Linked DNA regions of Homo sapiens: all the other regions are linked to region 3. Evidence: promoter capture Hi-C in 16 types of primary human blood cells and fetal thymus (Javierre and others, 2016). All regions are on one chromosome and are shown on one strand. Each heading gives the region's core, a stretch centred on a gene start or on the middle of the fragment in contact. The rest is flanking DNA. Distances are from core to core; before and after follow the strand shown. Region 1 overlaps FAM20B (FAM20B glycosaminoglycan xylosylkinase). Region 2 has its middle 28 kb from the start of ZNF648. Region 3 holds the start of ACBD6 (acyl-CoA binding domain containing 6). Region 4 holds the start of RALGPS2 (Ral GEF with PH domain and SH3 binding motif 2).

What was found. The method cuts DNA at HindIII sites, captures the fragments that hold promoters and counts their contacts. A CHiCAGO score of 5 or more calls a contact.
Region 1: a fragment that was not itself captured here is called in contact with the fragment with the promoter of ACBD6 in region 3 in 2 of 17 cell types (total CD8 T cells and naive CD8 T cells); the score reaches 6.3 in total CD8 T cells.
Region 2: a fragment that was not itself captured here is called in contact with the fragment with the promoter of ACBD6 in region 3 in 8 of 17 cell types (naive CD8 T cells, total CD8 T cells, total CD4 T cells and 5 more); the score reaches 10.4 in naive CD8 T cells.
Region 4: a contact is called between the fragment with the promoter of RALGPS2 here and the fragment with the promoter of ACBD6 in region 3, in 1 of 17 cell types (non-activated CD4 T cells). The highest score is 6.8, in non-activated CD4 T cells.

The regions. Positions count from the first base shown.
Region 1 is chr1:179,026,927-179,029,688 of GRCh38, reverse strand. All of the region lies in intron 1 of FAM20B (FAM20B glycosaminoglycan xylosylkinase), which reads right to left. Among named protein-coding and RNA genes, the nearest start is that of FAM20B, 2.4 kb to the right of the region's middle. RefSeq lists a silencer at 21-315 and an enhancer at 84-959. The HindIII fragment of the contact is 1,985 bases long and covers 346-2,330 here.
Region 2 is chr1:182,032,239-182,035,006 of GRCh38, reverse strand. No RefSeq gene overlaps it. Among named protein-coding and RNA genes, the nearest start is that of ZNF648, 28 kb to the left of the region's middle. The HindIII fragment of the contact is 1,856 bases long and covers 480-2,335 here.
Region 3 is chr1:180,501,162-180,503,861 of GRCh38, reverse strand. It overlaps ACBD6 (acyl-CoA binding domain containing 6), which reads left to right and starts at 1,285. Exons shown (of 8, transcript NM_032360.4): 1 at 1,285-1,817. The coding sequence starts at 1,596. RefSeq lists a silencer at 1,218-1,317 and enhancers at 1,528-1,717, 1,239-1,739, 1,847-2,362, 2,363-2,700. The HindIII fragment of the contact is 1,534 bases long and covers 388-1,921 here.
Region 4 is chr1:178,723,860-178,726,593 of GRCh38, reverse strand. It overlaps RALGPS2 (Ral GEF with PH domain and SH3 binding motif 2), which reads right to left and starts at 1,350. Exons shown (of 20, transcript NM_152663.5): 1 at 1,175-1,350. It overlaps RALGPS2-AS1 (RALGPS2 antisense RNA 1), which reads left to right and starts at 310. Exons shown (of 1, transcript NR_187252.1): 1 at 310-2,734. RefSeq lists silencers at 541-770, 971-1,090, 1,351-1,520, 1,422-1,576 and an enhancer at 411-1,000. The HindIII fragment of the contact is 4,509 bases long and covers 1-2,734 here.

The DNA of each region.
Region 1 (2,762 bases), core at 89-2,588, 1.5 Mb after region 3:
ATAATTTCATATTCCTTGACCTGCCTTTATAACGTGCCCAAGTTAGCACCCTCTTCTCTAAAGGGGTTATCTTGCCAGAAAGTACAGACCTTAAACACACACCAAAGCTCAAGGTCTCTTCTGCATCAGCTTACATTTTTCTCTTATCTCACACTGGGATGACAGACGCACCCATCTGTCATGTAGATTCTTTACATCCCAAGCTAGGCATTTCTTCTTTTGTTTTTGGTAAGAAAGACCAAATCAGAAGTGAGATCTTTGCATTATTTTCTCTTCTAGGCAGCTCGAGCAGTCATGCTGACATTGTAAGTTAGTCAGAAGCTGGTTTCAATAGCAAAGTAAGCTTCTGTTCTGCAGCCCAGGCCTATGTTAAAGAATTCATTAGTACTTGGGGTTACAGAGACAGCTGAAGGAAAACAGGAAGATATATGTAGGTGTAGAAGAAGGAACTGCTGGAGAAGTACTCTTAAAAAGGGATAACTCCCCTCTTCCACCGTCAAAATAAGGGACAAGGGCAGTCAGGTCAATGCTATTGACATGGCCATTGCCAAGAGCTCTAAGTTCTTCTATTAATGCAAAAACACTGGCTATCAATCCAACTGCCCAATTAGCCTAGCCAGAACAGACTGTAGGAGCAAGGTTGTGAAGCTGCACTTGACTGGAACCTGCACAGGCTACTGCCAGGCTCCAGGTGGTTTAGAACACCATATAATCACAGAAGCAAATAACACACCTCTACAGAATATTTTGAACAGTAATCCGAAACACATTTTCTACGCTTTTTTTTTCTTTTGACAAAAAGAGGAACTAAATAATTTAGTATATACATTAGAATATTTCCCCTTCCCTCATACTGTTTTCCATTTATTCATTCAACTGACGAATATTTATTGTGCACCTTCTACATACAGGCACTGTCAGGTGCAGAGAGAAAAATACACAGATACACAGATTACTGTAACAATTACAACAAACTGTAGGGCCTCATTGTAACTGTGTTCCCCATCCCAATCCACAAAACCACCTGGCACTTAGTCCCAGAAGGACTAAGAGTCAGATTCAGAAGACAGTCTCCTTCTGTTGTTGTTGTTGTTTGTTTGTTTGTTTTTTGAGACGGAGTCTCACTGTCAGCAGTCTGGAGTGCAGTGGTGCAATCTCAGCTCACTGCAACCTCTGCCTCCTGGGTTCAAGCGATTCTCCTGCCTCAGCCTCCTGAGTAGCTGGGACTACAGGCGTGCACCACCATGCACAGCTAATTTTTGTATTTTTAGTAGAGACGGGGTTTCACCATGTTGGCCAGGATGGTCTCAATCTCTTGACCTCGTGATCCGCCTGCCTCGGCCTCCCAAAGTGCTGGGATTACAGGCATAAGCCACCGCGCCCGACCAACTGTCTTTTTATGTATTCTTACAGAATACAAAGAACGCCCTCCTGCTTCTGTTATGAGATTGTGGCAATCACCAAAAGACAACCTCTGTGGTTAGCTATTTTAAAAAGTTATCAATTCAACAGCTGAAGTATCTGGCTTTAGGGTTTTACACTAATGAAATGATTTTAGGGTTTTACACCAATGAAATGATAGACACACAAAGTGTGGGAAGCTGAAGTCTGCCCTAAAACTGAAGGAACAGAAAGTTTCATTTAGGAATTTAAAATTCAGAAGAGATAAGAAGCAGAAACTTTAAGGCTGTGTGAAAGGGCTGGAATCTACAAATGGAAATCAAGGGAATGAACTAAAAGTCAAGGAATTATCAATTTAACATAAAATACTTCCATGATATAAAAGATTATAAAAATAAAGATGATAGAAGCAGTGATGTGTTTTTTCTCTAATCTTAAGAACCAAAAAGAAAAGCAGTGTATGTGTTTTCTAGTTTCCATTCATTCACCAAAACATAGCTACTGTCCTACCAGTTCTAGAGAAACGAATAGAGCATACCAATGTCACATTTTCACCACACAGAAAAGAAACGCTGTGAACTCCAAGATGTCTTGATCATCTTTTACCTGTATCCATATTTATCACTGCACTTTATCATGAGTGAGGCTGAGAGTCTGAATTATACTTGTGTGTGCCTTTGTATTCTCCTTTGATAAGTAATTTCAAATGGGAAAGGGACTCCTGCTGACTGATTCCATTGTACGGTTCGAGAGGCCAAAGTCCAACATCTTTGCAAACTTTAGAAAAGTTATTAATAGAATACATTGATTTTAAATCTCCCTGAGATTGGCTATGAGTCTGGGCAAATAATTTAGCATCTTTACCATTTGTACCTCAGTTTCTCAGACAGTCGTGATAACGAATCATATTTGAGGAAGTGCTCTAAGCTTAGCTCAAAGATCCTGCATAAACTCAAGGAATGTTTGTAATACATAAGAACACTGAGATCTCTAACCAGATTTTTAGAAATCAACGCCAGTGAAATTTTTGCAAGAATTTACAACGCAAAAAACATAGGCGTGGCTAATAAATGGCAATAGTAATTTGTACCAGATTATAGATTTATAAAGTCCTACAGTTTAAAGGCTAAAGGCTAAAAAAAACCCCACATTCCTACTTCCCTTCCAAGTGAGAAATCAAACCTCCAGAGGGAAGCTGGCTGGGTGGGGAAGATGCTGATATCTGGCACTAGACCCAAGTCGCAATAGCAAGCAACTCTCATTTTCCCAAATTAGAAACTCCTTATCCATCCCAATGATGGTATGGTCTTTAAAAGGACTAATAATTCCATTAAGACTAACCAAGCCCTGTTACCCCTACT
Region 2 (2,768 bases), core at 158-2,657, 1.5 Mb before region 3:
AACTGCAGCAAACTGTTATTAATTGGTGAATCTAGGTGGAGGTTATACAGGATGTCATTGTATTATTCTAACAACTTTTCTGCTAGTTTGAAATTTTTTCAAAATAAAATGTTAAAAGTACATATTTACATCAAGTGTTGGTAAGGATGTGGAGAAATGGAAATTTTCATACTCTGATAAAAGGAATGCAAATTATTGGTACAGTTCTTGGAGAGTAATATAATGATGTTTAATATTACATTGATATAATACTATTAATACAGTATGATGATGATGATATGATAGTAGTATCAGTAATCATCAATATATCTATACCTTATACCTTAGCAATTCAAATGGGATATGGGAAGAAAATAGTAGAATTTTGTACTTATCTTTTAAGAAAAAATTTACATTTGATAATGGGTATTACATGTTAATACAATAGGACATTTATATAATTTATAAATAGAGACATATTGAGGATAAGCAGTTAAGCTTTTTTATTGATGAGGCAACACAATCAGCATAGCAGGAGACCACTCCCCCTTAAGAAATTTAAGTATACATGAGGAGATTATAAATATATGTAAGAATATTAATTGCAGCATAATTTGTAATGGCAAAACTTTGGAAACATTTTAAATATTCATCAGTAAAAGAATACATAAATCAATTGTGTTTTATTAATATAATGGGATGTTAAATAGCAGTTAAGATGAATGAAGCGAAGCTGTAAGTACAGGTTTAGAAAATGTTGAGTGAAAAAACCAAGTCACAGAACCATAAGTCTATTCATATAAATTGTCTTATTCATTTGGCTGTTCCAACAAAGTACCATAAACTGGATGGCTTATAAACAACAGAAATTTATTTCTCACAATTCTGAAGGCTTGGAAGTCTAAGATCAGGGCACCAGCAGAGTCAGGGTCTGGTGAAGGTCCTCTTCCAGGTTGCAGACTGCTGCTGACTTCTAATTGGATCATGACACGGCAGAAGGAGAGCTAGCAGTTCTTGGACCTCTTCTTATAAAAGGCACTAATTTCAATCATGAGGCTCCACCCTTATGACCTGATCACCTCCCACAGGCCCCACCTTCAAATATTATCCCACCGGGATTAGGATTTCAACATATGCATTTTAGGGTGGACACTTTCAGTCCATTGCATAAATTTGGGCACAGAGAAAGACATGAATAGAAGGATAACAACGTGGAGAGACATAGGGAGAAGATGGCCATTAACAAAGCCAAGGGGGAGAGGCCTGGAACAGACTCCCCCTCACAGCCCTTAAAAGGAACCAACTTTTAAGACACCTTGATATCAGACTTCTAGCCTCCAGAACTGAGAGGTGAAATTTTTATTAAGTCATCCAGCTTATAGTACTTTATTATTACAGCCCTAGCAAACTAATACAACATTTATAACTTGGCAATTTTGTTATTTTTTTAAAAAGTATGTTTTCAACCAGAGGGAAAAAACCCTTCTTCCCTCAAAAATGTAAAATGAGGAACTAGAAGGGGTGAAGCTGATCTGCTATTTAATAGAATATCTTTATATATTTTAATAGTAAAGTTAAAATTTTGATCTGTTATCAAAGAGGTTTTTGTTTAATAAACCTGGTGGGTCAGTCTCATGGAGCAAGGGAAAACAATTCCCATGTGCTCAGAAGAGCATTTTGTAATTTCCTAATTAGGGATAAGAAAGACAATTCCCAAGTTTCCTTCAGAAAAGACTGGGGCAATAAACATAATTAACTCTAAGAGGTTTAATAATAAATCACCAAATCTCATGAGCATAATAAATACAACTAGGGAAGTATTTTAATATAGTCTCAATATAATAATCACAAATTCAACTTCAGAACAGTGTGAATTACAAATATAATGTGGATATTTTCTTGGCATAGATCTCAGGCCATGCTATTTTTAAGGTCATTTGTTATTGGAAGCAGAAGGGGCATGATAATATGTAACCTTAGTCCTGCTGACAGAATTTCAGCAAGAGTAACAATGTCCTCCTGCAAACTCTTGATGATACCTTGCTAGAGAAAAAATATGAAGCTGAATAAAGCACAGAATATGAATATGGCCCATGAGAAAACTTCTTTAAGACCACCTGTAGAATTCTGCAATCACATACGCAGGTTTTCTTGTTAGCAACATGCTGGTCTCTCTAATTCCCAATAGCATCTTGCTGTGATATTGTGAGCCTTTAGCATTTTGAATCTCTTGTCCTCACATGTTCAGAACAGTGCCCGGGATATGCCTTTGATAGGTGTCAACTGATGAATAAGGTGAGACAAACAGTTTGATATGAATCCATATTTATTGGATCTCATAAACCCAAAGCAAGCTTACTGACAAGTACAGCAGATGGGGTCAGGGTGGGGGCAGGAGGGTTGCTTTGTTGCCCAGGCTGGAGTGCAGTGGTGTGATCACAGCTCACTGCAGCCTCAAACTCCTGGGCTCAAGCAATCCTCCCTAGTAAGTCTATCGAGTTGCTGGGATTACAGGCATCAGCCACCATGCCCAACCAATCAGGTGATTCCTCTCCTCTGCTTCTGTGTTGGGCCTATAAAAGTCCATTGCTCACACTGTGCAGCACTCTGAACTTTTGGTTCTCAGTGATGCATGATTCCTGAGTCATTCTTTGCTCAAATAAACTGGTAAATTTAATTTGTCTAAAGTTTTTCTTTTAACACATGTAAAGTATTATTACAGAAAAAAGTGTAACTATTAAAACAGTGTTTTCAAGGACCAAAAGCACAGAAGTCAATTAGTTTAGGCA
Region 3 (2,700 bases), core at 36-2,535:
TCAATTCTCACTTTAATAAAAATTCTAGAAACAAAGATATAAAAGTCCATGTTATATCTCCTTCAGTCTACTTGTCGGGTTCATCATCCATTATTACCCCACATGAAAGCTAACTTCTTTTTCCTTGCTCCTCCATTTGCTAGCTGTGTAGCCTTTGACAAGTTACTTAACCACTCTGTGCTGATTTCCTATGTGTAGTAAAATAAGAGTACCTACCTTATGTTGTAATGATCAAGTCCTCAATACATTATTCTTAATCACTTTTTAATTGCAAGAATTTGGTCATTAAACATCCCTTTGACTGGATTGCGAGCACCTTGACAGCAGGGACTAACAGTGGAACTTTCTGGAGACTTAAGGAATGTCTGTTGAATCCTGATGCAAGCTTTCTCACCTTCCTGTGTTCTCTCATTGCTTCCTCATCCTGTCCAGCCGTCCGTCCACCCGTCGCAAGCCTAACCCCAGTCAATAACCACTGTTTACAACACTTTCTTTGTACCCTTCTTATAGTGCTTATTACATTGTTTTGAATACTAAATGAATATATAGTGCGTCGTTGTGTTTAACATTTAGGACATAACCACTCATAATGTTACAGTTAAAAAAATAGTTTTGTGCATTCCTCTAGGGCCGAACTGTGCCGTACTTCTGGTTTCACTGTACAGTGTCTACAAAGCACAGTGTCAAAGACAGAGCTCGGGATGAGAACTGGGCTAAGGCGCGCCCCGAACTCCCCAAACCCTATTATTCAGGGCCCGGAGAGGTGCGGGCTCCGAAGGTGTGGAGAGCGAAACACGCAGAGCAGTGATTCCACTCATCAGTCACACAGTAAGACGGGACAGCCCCATCTCGCAGTTTTTCATTATTCAACACAGAGCCCAACGCGCACGCAACAGATCCGCGCGCAGGGCTGTTTGGAGGCGCTTGGGGCGCACAATCTGGGGCAGGCGGAACCTTAGTCCTCAGCCTCGCGTTTCCCGCGACTCCGCTCTCACCGCTACACTACCACACAAACGGCCTCCTTCCCCCACCCCCGGGGGCCCATCCCGGTGGCGGGCTCCGGAGCTCGGGACTGCTAATTTCAGCGAAACGATTAAAAGACGCCCCTACAGCTGACGGCACTTTCTCTCCTCCGGCAGGGAAGGACGTCCAGCGTAGCGTCGCCCGCGCTTCCCCGCCGGCGCAGAGCAGGCCTCACAGAATCGCACGCCGCTGGCACGCACGCCGCCCCGCCCCCACGGCCCAGCGCCAGCCGCGCCCCGCGCTCGCACGCATCCCGGCCTCACTGCCCCTCGACTCCTGTTCCGTTGGAGGGGCCTGAGGCGAGCCTGAGCGCGCTGTTGGCCGGAGGGAAGCCGGAGGAGACCGGGTCGACTGGGCAGAGCGGCAGAGGGTCGAGGAGCCTGCTCTGCACGCCCAGGGAGTAGAAGTGGGCAGGGAGCAGGGTCACGTGAGGGAGCGCGCCGCGACTGAGCTTGGGTCCGACTGGAGCTCAGGCTCGCGACCCAGACTGGTGGGCCAGGCCTCCAAGCCGGCCTTACACCCAATCCAAGGAGGACAGACCGGACACAGAGGGACGGAGCGAGCAAGGAGACATGGCTTCATCATTCCTGCCCGCGGGGGCCATCACCGGCGACAGCGGTGGAGAGCTGAGCTCAGGGGACGACTCCGGGGAGGTGGAGTTCCCCCATAGCCCTGAGATCGAGGAGACCAGTTGCCTGGCCGAGCTGTTTGAGAAGGCTGCCGCGCACCTGCAAGGCCTGATTCAGGTGGCCAGCAGGGAGCAGCTCTTGTACCTGTATGCCAGGTACAAACAGGTAAAGTAGCAGGGAGAGGGTGGATGGGGGAGAAAGACACGGAGCCTTCTTCCTCAACAACTGATAGCAAGCATGTATGGTTAATAGCTAGGTGTAATGAAGCTTGTGTATGTGTATTTTGTTTTGTTTTTTTTTTTTTGACCATCTGCTGGGGATGAGCATCATCCTGAACGTGGAAAAGATGTTTGCTTTCTTAGGAGTGATGTTTATTTAGCTGGACACTGGACATTGTTTTTGTGTTTTTTTCTCTGACTTATTCAGTGATCTTGCATTTTACCAGCCCAAGAACCTTTACAAAATGAGGATAAAATAAGATATATCATTCATTTACTCTTTCCCAGAGGGCCACATGGAAGTAAATACGGTAAAGTTAATAAAACTATATAGAGATCCAAAAAGATAATAGGATTGTAATAATGTGATGCAGGGCTGGGCGTGGTTGCTCACGGCTGTAATCCCAGCACTTTGGGAGGCCGAGGCGGGAGGATCACCTGAGGTCGGGAGTTGGAGACCAGCCTGACCAACATGGAGAAACCCCGTCTCTACTAAGTTAGCCGAGCGTGGTGGCGCATGCCTGTAATCCCAGCTACTCGGGAGGCTGAGGAGGCGGAGGTTGCGGTGAGCGAAGATTGTGCGCCATTGCACTCCAGCCTGGGCAACAAGAGCGAAGAAACTCCACCTCAAATAATAATAATAATAATAATGTGATGCAATGCAAAATGCAGTATTACAACTTTTATTGTGATTTTTATAAAATCCTAAATATCTTTGATTTATGTTTTCGTTGAGTATGTCTTCCTTTCTGTTTGATACAATCTAAAAATTTTAGAGCTATGAACACCAGAGGAAATAATGCCCTTCTTTTACAGTAAAGGAAACTGAA
Region 4 (2,734 bases), core at 101-2,600, 1.8 Mb after region 3:
TCTTAAATACACAGTAGGCATTAGATATTTCTTTTGGGGTTTTTTTTTTTTAACAGAAATTTAGTATTTCAATTGCCCCTCCTCCACAGCTAACATCAGTGCCCTTTCTTCCTCCTCCCTTACCCCTCCCAACTCAAACAAATTAACATTTGTACTAGGTACCTCCTATCAGCTCGCAGCTTCTTCCCAAACACGCCCACGTACACTGAAACTGGCTTGCGTCTACACAACACACAGCTACAGGAAAAGAGCTTCGAGGGGGGAGCTGGGGCGGGGGGTTAATAATTCGCTCCGCACAGGTTTACGGCTATTTTCCAGAAACTAGTTCCTCGCTCGTGGCTCGCGTTTCTTCCAAATCACCTCAAAAGCACGGTGTTTATGAGCCTACCTAATCCGATACTGCAATGGAATTCCGGATATTTGCAGACAGATCTCCCGGCTTTGCAAGTGTTTGATGAGATACGTTCGGAATCTCCTTTTTTTTCTAGAGCCCGGTTCCAGGCCGTAGAGCAAGCCGACCTGGGGCTGCGGCCCCTGCCCCACACCCGGCCCGCGCGCCCGGCCCGAGGCCAGCACAGGACGCAGCCCCTCCGGGGCCGGGGCTGGCGGGGGCCGCTCGGGCTGCGGGCCGCTCTGCAACAGGTCACCCTGACCGCGACTCCGCGGGTTCGCGGGCGGCCAACTCTGCGGCCAGGCTTCTGGGCGCAGCCGCCAGGGCCAGGGGAGGGGGTGTGGCCCGGCTTCTGCTGGTCCTGGCTCCGAGGTCCGGGATCGGGCTCACCTGAAGGAAGACTGAGGCGCCGCTGGGCGCCAGAACAGAGCGGGCGGAGGCTGGGGGCTTCCGCCACCCAAGAGGGAGAGCGAGGCGGGTTCAAGGGGTCGCAGCGCCCCCGGCTTCAGGACGGCGCCCCCGAGCGGGGACCCCACGGCCGCTCCGACTCTGAGAACCCGCGGCCGAGGGAGGCGCGCCGCCCAGCGCCCTTCTCCCTCAGCCTCAGCCCCAGCTCCGCAGCCCCCTCCCTGCGCGCAGGGCGAGCAGCCCCGGGGCCCGCGGCCGGGAGAGCCACACTCCGCAGCGCCGCCGCCGCCATTCCCCGCGCCGCCCGGGGGGCGCCGCGTACCCACCCTCCCTCCCTCCCTCCCCCGCACCGCCCCGCGGCCTGAGCCCACCGACCTGTGCAGCCGCGGCCGTCGCCTCAGAGGACGGAAAGACGATGCCGGCCTCACGCTTCACCGCCACGGCCGCCGCCGCCTAGAGTAGCACTCGTCGACCCGAACAGTCACCGTCTCTCATTCAGCGCCCGCAGCAGCCGCCGCCGCCGCCGCCGCTGCCGCTCGGGGGAGGAGAGTGAGCTGGAACCACCCCGTCCGCGCCAGGGGTGGGGGACGAGAGCGGACCTGGCGGGGGCGCGCGCCAAGCGGGCGGGGCGGAGCCGCGCGCGCGCGCGCACCAACGGAGCGCGCTCGCGGGGGCTCTGAGAGCTGCAGCCGTCAGGGTCTTAACCTCGCGCTTCCCGCCCGCAGCTTTTCGGCCCCGCGGAGCCCAACTGCCGCCGGTGATCGGTGCCCGCAGCGCGCGCAGCCATCCGCAACCCCACCGCCCGGCGCCTGCTGAAAGGAGGGGCTCCCACCGGCCAAACAACGGGGGGGGGAAGGGGTAGGAGGATGGACAGGTGGGGCGTCCGCCACCGCCTGGCCACCCGCTCCCGGAACGCGGCCCTCTGTGAAATCCGCCGTGATGTCTGTGGCCTTCAGCGCCGGGCTCTTCACCTTTAAGGCCAGAGAACAAAGTCTGGAAGCACTTGGCCCCAAGATCAAATATCCAGCCCACGCCAGCGGTGTTTTTAGAAGTCACTGAGGACAAATGAGGGGGCTCCCAATGTGGAGAGTCACCCCACTGTCTTAGATAAGGTCATAAATTATGGTGATCAACATCCTCACACATTAAGATTCGGGAAGTGTTAGAAGTAGGCCTTTGTAAGATGTTACGCAGGGTACTACCCTTGACTTAAGGAGCAAATGACAGAAATTGGGCGGAAAGGTGTTGTTTCAGAGTCTACTAAATGGGTGGCCTACTTAAAGCTAGCACCATTTGATGCAGTGTGACTGTTAACGGAAGGTTTTAAGTGAGCCGCCTTTGTATCTGCTGTCATTAGACCATTTGGAAATGGATAATTATTTGATGATCTGCAGTTCTTTCTCTAGGCAATGTGCAGTAGAATGTGGAAAGAATACTATGTACCAGCATTAAGTGTAAAACATGAAAGGACCAATAATTCACTATTCCCATTTGGTTTCTTTCTTCCCTTTAATAACCGCTAAACAGAACTGATTAATCTTGAACGTTGAAGATTGCTAATTATTTCCTCCTTTGATTGCCTTCTGTCATAGCCCTTTTACTCTAGTTGGGGACGCTAGAATGCCCTTCAACCTCCTTCTCTCAAATAGGGTTACTTTAAAGCACCCCAACGCAAAGTTAAGTCAAAAAGAAAAACAGCGAGGATAGGCAACAAAGTTCGTAGTGTTTCATTTTTATTCCATTTTACTTTCAAAGAAAGTCTTGAATCATGACGAAATCACTAGAAGAAGTAGAGCAATCAAAAGAAGAAAAAAAGCGTTCCCCCCCACCCAATATTTCAAATGACAAGAGTCCAAAAAAGAAAAGAAAAAGGAAGATGATTGGTAAAAAGGAGGGAAGTGCATTATGTATACAGAAAGTTTTCGCATAGATGTT